Linked DNA regions of Homo sapiens: region 2 is linked to region 1. Evidence: promoter capture Hi-C in 16 types of primary human blood cells and fetal thymus (Javierre and others, 2016). All regions are on one chromosome and are shown on one strand. Each heading gives the region's core, a stretch centred on a gene start or on the middle of the fragment in contact. The rest is flanking DNA. Distances are from core to core; before and after follow the strand shown.

What was found. The method cuts DNA at HindIII sites, captures the fragments that hold promoters and counts their contacts. A CHiCAGO score of 5 or more calls a contact.
Region 2: a fragment that was not itself captured here is called in contact with the fragment with the promoter of FTHL17 in region 1 in 1 of 17 cell types (total B cells); the score reaches 6.0 in total B cells.

The regions. Positions count from the first base shown.
Region 1 is chrX:31,070,422-31,073,783 of GRCh38, forward strand. FTHL17 (ferritin heavy chain like 17) reads right to left here and starts at 1,620. Exons shown (of 1, transcript NM_031894.3): 1 at 812-1,620. The coding sequence starts at 1,532. The coding sequence ends at 981. The HindIII fragment of the contact is 17,190 bases long and covers 1-3,362 here.
Region 2 is chrX:31,295,543-31,298,904 of GRCh38, forward strand. All of the region lies in intron 62 of DMD (dystrophin), which reads right to left. Among named protein-coding and RNA genes, the nearest start is that of FTHL17, 230 kb to the left of the region's middle. The HindIII fragment of the contact is 2,269 bases long and covers 367-2,635 here.

The sequences.
Region 1 (3,362 bases), core at 370-2,869:
TCCCTTCCAGGGCTGGTTATTTGGCTAGATTCCCAGTCTACCCACACAATCTTCTTTAACCCGTTGATATACTTGCAGGGTAACAGAAAGAAAAAGGAACATGGCATCAGAAGATCGAGGTTCATGTCCAGATTCCACAACTTCTTGCCTGTATGGCCTCCCTTTTTGTCACTAATAAAGTCATGATACTTGTCCTTCCTTCTTCCTGAGATTCTTGTAAAAACAAAGTACAACAATGTAAATAAAAGGACTTGGACTTGCAAAGTGCCATTTTAGTTTGTCAGCCCCTTGGCTATGGGGAAGCCAGCTTAAGGCTCCCACTACAACTGTCACCCAAAGTGAGCTTGCCAAAGAAGTACCCTGCTGTGCTGTCACCCAGAGCCCCCACTTGCTACTCAGAATCCACAAACATTAACATTGGCATATTTTAATAAACTACAAGTTTTCATGTAAAGTTGAAGACCCTTTGTTTATTTTAATCCTTGCCCAATCCCATTTCCTTCACTTCTTCCCCAGAGGCAACCACTATGATGAATTCCAGACCACGTTTTACACTTTACCGTGCCCATGCACCCACAGCCACCAGGGCCCAAGAGTGACCACCCCACCCCATCCCACCCCACATACCCTGGTAGTTTACAAAGGGAAGACTAATGTGTTTTCCAGGGGCCCATAAAATACCATTCCACTCCACCCCTGCAAATCCTGAGCTGCATGCAGATGGGGCAGGGGTGGGTGGAGAGACTGCTGGATACCTACTTTAAACCTGCATGGGGATTTGCCCTGATTCCTAAAAGGTGAGAGTTGCAGGTGTATCAAATGGACACCTTTATTGCTTTGAGAACCAGATAACTTTTTTGCTAACAATGGTAAAACTGAAAGATAAAACTGAAGAGAACGTTCTGAAAGGGCAACATGCACGCCCCGCCTAGTGGCCTGACCCAGGGAAGGGACCCCGTGGCTGTGGGGCCCATCTGGGCTCAAGTCTCTTTGACGCGGCCGCCCAGGGTGAGCTTGTCGAACAGGTACTCAGCCAGGCCGGCTTCCGGGGAACAAATCTTGCGCAGGTTGCTCACGTAGCCACCCAGCTCTTTGATGGTCTTGACTTGCTCGTGCAGGTAGTGGCTCTCCAGGAAGTGGCACAGCTGGGGGTCGCCCTTCTCCACGGCCAGCTGGTACAGATCCAGCAGGCTCTGGTTGACGTTCTTCTCCAGGTGGAAGGCGGACTCCATGGCCACGAGCCCGCTCTCCCAGCCTTGGCACTCTGGCTTCCTGATATCGTGAAGGCAGATGTGGCCACCGCGCAGGTTCTGCAGCCTCATCAGCTTCTGGGCATGCTCCATTTTGTCGTCCGACAGGCGCAGGAAGTAGCGGAAGAAGTTCTCCAGGGCCACGTCGTCCCGGTTGAAGTAGAAGGCCATAGACAGGTACAGGTAGGAGGTGTAGAGCTCCAGCGTGATGTGGCTGTTGATGGCGGCGTCGCAGTTGGTGTCGTACTTCTGGCGCACCTGCGACGGCTGGGCGGTGGCCATGGCGGGCAGCGCAAGTGCAGGCGAGCACACGGGCGAAGTCGGTGCGGTAGCGAGGGCAGCAGCTGAGGTGACAAGAATGGCGGATAGTGAAAGGCGGGTGTGCGATGAAACCGGAAGTGGGCAGTGGAAGTGGGCAGTGGCGACCGTTAGGGAGGAGCGCGCTCTGTCGGTGGGGGGAGGGGCGGCGGGGGACAGAGTTGCGGGGCAAGGGGGTGGGGGCACAAGCGCTGACTTCCGTCGGAAATCCCGGCCACTTGGCGCTGAATGTTTCAAGACCATCTTTTAAAAATAACTGCTCTAGGCCGGGCACGGTAGCTCACGCGTGTAATCCCAGCACTTTGGGAGGCCGGGGCGGGCGGATCACGAGGTCAGGACATGGAGACCAACCTGACCAACATGGTGAAACCCCGTCTCTACTAAAAATACAAAAAAAATTAGCCAGGCATGCTGGCGCGCGCACCTGTAGTCCCAGCTACTCGGGAGGCTGAGGCAGGAGAATTGCTTGAACCCAAGAGGCGGAGGTTGCAGTGAGCTGGGATTGTGCCGTTACACGCCAGCCTGGGCAACAGAGCAAGACTTGTGTCAAACAACAACAACAAACTGCACTATTGAGATACAATTCCTCTGCCATAAAATTCACCCTCTGAAACATTTCCATGGTTTTTAGTATATTCATGAAGTTGTGTAACTATCACCCCATCACCAAAAATCTAATTTCAGAACGTTTTCCTTATTCCAAAATGAAATCCCCTACCCATGAGTAGTTACTGCCCATCTCGCCTTCCTCACTGGCCCGACAACCACAAATGAAATCTCTGTTTCTAGAGATTTGCTTACTCTGGACATTTCAAATAAATCATACTATATGCGGCCTTTATATGGCCTCTTTCATTTAGCATAATGTCTTTAACTTTTGTCTTTTTTATGGCTGAATTATATTTCATTGTATGGATATACCACATTTTATTTACTCATTCATCAGTCGATGGGCATTTGAGTTGTTTCCATTTTGTGACTATTATGACTAATGCAGCTATGAGGATTTTTATAATAGACATATGTTTTCAACTCCCTTGGGTATATACCTGGGACTAGAATTGCTGGGTCATATGTTAAGACTCTGTTTAACATTTTGAGGAACTGCTAGACTGTTTTCCAAAGTCCCCTCATCATTTTACATGCCCACTAACAATGTATGAAGGTTCCAACACTGTCATTGTCTTTGTTGTTTTTCTAGTGGATGTAAAGTGGTATCTCACTGTGGTTTTGATTTGCATTTCCATAATGGCTATTGATGTTGAGCATCTTTTCATAGTCATTTGTATCTTCTTTGGAGAAAACTCTATTCAAGTCTTTTGTCCATTTTAAAATTGGGTTATTTGTACTTTTATTGCTGAGTTTTAAGAGTTCTATATATATTATGTGTGCCAGTCCTTTTTCAGATATATGATTTGCAAATATTTTCTCTCATTCTGTTTTTTTTTTCACTTTCTTAATGGTGTCCTTTGAAGCACAAAGTTCTTAATTATGTTCAATTTTTCTGTTTTTCTCTTGTCACTTGTGCTTTTAGTGTCCTATCTAAGAAACCATTGCCTAATTCAAGGTCATAAACATTTATGTCCAGGTTTTCTTTGAATAATTTTACAGTTTTAGCTTTTACATTTAAGTTTCTAACTCATTTTGAGTTAATTTTTGTATATGATATGAGGTCATTGTCCAATTTCATTCCTTTGTGTGTGGATATCCAGTTGTCCTAGCACCATTTGTTGAGAAGACCATTCTTTCTCCACTAGATGGTCTTGGCACACTTGTCAAAAATCAATTGACCAT
Region 2 (3,362 bases), core at 251-2,750, 230 kb after region 1:
AGCTGGGATTACAAGCGCTCGCTATGAACGCCTGGCTAATGTTTGTATTTTTAGTAGAGATGGGGTTTCACCATGTTGGTCAGGCTGGTCTCGAACTCCTGACATCAAGTGATCTGCCCGCCTTGGCCTCCCAAAGTGCTTGCATTACAGGCGTAGCCACCACACCCGGCCTTGACTTAGTACTTTGTATTGGTGATATATGGAATTGATTTCAACATTTTTTGCCATTCTAGGGTGAAAGTGCTACAATAAATTAAAACCTTATACCAGCCAAAGAAGAGGCAGCTCTCAATTGTGAATGTTGAGAATATACTTACAAGAAAAATTTAACTTTGGTGATGTAATAGCTTCATTTGCATTACCTAAAGCTTGAAGTCAAAAGCTAAAGTATTAAGCGTACAGAAGCATGGACTCTATGAAAGAAACAATCCAAAAAGTGACTTTTTTTTTTTTTTTTTTTTACAATGGGAGACATTAAGAACTTTGGTAACTAACTCTTCAATATGTCCCTGATGACAGACCAAGGATTTATGACCAGAAGAAGCTATTAAGAAAATCTTCCTGAGGTGTTAAACATTGAACATGGATTATTCATGAAAAGATAGGAAATCTCTTTTCTGAATCAGAAGAGAGTAGATTCTTGTTGATCTGGAGTGGTTTCCATTTACTTCTGCCATGGGAATAAACTGAATGATTGCTCTATAATTGAATAGTCTTTTAAACCATACTCTATAAATTCTATAACTATCTTATAAGTATGGTATCTAAAAATAAGACTGATAGCTTGAGGACTCATAGTTGTGAAAAACTATTGAAAGTATCATTGAAAAGGCTCAACGTTTTCTATTTTCAAAAAGCTAATGGTAAGCTATTTTTTAATCCAATGGATGATGGTTTCAGTAAAGGCAATTTTGTCACAAAGATTTTTATGGGAATCTGCAGTATGTAGAAAGATTCTCCTGAGGAAACGTGCTTACTGCTCCCTTTACAGTAGGTCAAGAGTCTCTGATTTCTAGCACAGAACTATTTTCTAGGCATCTTTTAAAACCCTACCTAAAGGCAGATGAGTGGGCCCTAATGTTACAAAGAACTACTCTGAGCTAAGTGAAAGAATTACAGTTGGACAAGTGGGAACAAATAACATGGTTCATAGCTGCAATTACTGCTCACATGAATTTTACTTATAATATTCCTGATGCCAAGTCATAAATGCTCTCAACATCTCATCTGACTGGTAGAACTTTCTTACTGGCATGAGATTCCTAGGATTTTTGTTATCCTTTAGCTTTTATATTCTACACCATGGATTGGTACCACTCTAAATTGGATCAAATTTTGGAACAATAGACATCAAGTAAGATGTTTCTAAACAATTAGCTATTCTTAGTCATTTGAATTTCTATGTCATAACACATGCTTTGGCATTTATAGAGTAACCTACTCTTAAGAAAAAATAATCTCTTCTAAAGCCCGTATTTAATTTTACAATTGTGTATACACAATTGTGTATGTATATAGTAAGCATGGTCACTGACAAATGCTAATGTCTCAGCCAGGGAAATTGATTGACAGGAAACTGGAGAAGAGCCCCTGAAAACTCAAGTCTGTAATTATATACTACATCTGTGAGTGGACTACCTGTATCAGTTTATACACCATCTTCCAAATCCCAAAGTTTAGTGGTAAACTAAACCTTGTCTGATGCCCTGTATGGTCTAAAAAAGAGGAGAGGGGTTGAAAAGAGCAAGAGGTAGAGTAGAGATGCAATCTGAAGACCGCTATTCCCAGAGTGATAGAGCAAGTGACTAGTAGTGAATGTGAGGGACCTCCTGTTTGTGTGGTTTGTCTGTCATATAAATCTTGAAACTTACATAGATTTTTATAAGGGAAAACATCAGCATATCGAGAAGAAAGATATAATGTTTAAGGGGATCATTGCCACTGGACTTTATTTAGATTTTGGCTTGCACATTCTATCAGAATGAAAAGCCAACATTGAAATCTTTTCATCATATAAGAGAAAAAGGAAGATAGTAGGTGCTGGTATCACAAGGCTAGAAGCGGTTTTCATAGTAGTCAGCCATTAATCTTTCCCTTATGAGTTTGAGTTATCCTAACATTGTGCATATTATAAATACAGACACCTGCTTGGCTTGTACTGCCTCTCAACAAAGTGATGGCAGACAGAAAACCTAAAAAAGTTCTTTTCTGGACTAGCTGTGGATTAGGCCTAGATTGGATCGCCATTAGAAAAGTGGGGAATGCATATGCATGTGTGCATACATACAAGTTCTATGGGCCTACAGTCCTGGAGTGCACACTGAGACATGTGGCTTCTGGGGGTTGCTGCCTTTCAATACCACAGAATCACTGGGTTACAGCCCATTGGCTGAGTAGTTCAAGTTATCTATAGACTCATTTATTATGTGACAGAGCTGATGATAGCATAGATGCATCCCTGATTGAAAGCCAGATAGATCCTTTGCTTCATTTTGCTTTGTTAGTGTGGGCTAGCACAGGCTTGCCTTTAGGTACCTGAGTGGAATGTACAACTTCTAGTCCTTACATGTAATGGAGAAGACTGCTATGATTCATCTTGAAAAGTAAAATGTACACACATACCTGTCTATATCCAAGCTTGGGGGTAACACTTCTGGGTTTGAGCTATGACATTTTTGTATAATAAATGAAAATTAAACTTCATTTGAATTTCATAATTACCTACTACTGGTGTGATTTAGAAGCAGCTGGTAGGTCAATATGGTGCTCTTTTATGCATTTTAGTACTGAGAAAAACATAAGTGCTAGATATGCCACTTTTAAAGTTTCCCAGAATATTAGAATTCAAACACACACACACACACACATACACACACACACACACACACATACACACACACACATACAGAGTAATAGTGGTAATACCACTGCCAGAGACTCAGTTAAGATAATATTGTTCTCTATTTGACTCCTCTTTAATTCCGTCTAAACATGAATGAGAATAATCATTGACCTATATCTACAACATGACTAAATGAGTTCACCAGAGGATCTAACAGCATAAATCTATTTTCCATGAATTAAATTAAAAACTCATGAATACACATAATACTTTTAGATTGAACCAAATATTTTCATGAATACAGACTCTCTTCATCCACGTAGGAAACCCTATTGGTGAGCAGCAGGTTGGCAATGAGTAAATGCTGCTCAGCAGGTCAGACGTGTACAGCTGGAGAAAGATCATGAAATTTAGCTAGTATACTAGGCAAAACACAAATCTGGAAAGGAGATGATCCACATTGCAATTTTTAAAAAAAATTCTATGTAGACTTAGAGGTCTAGTACAGTACACATACACA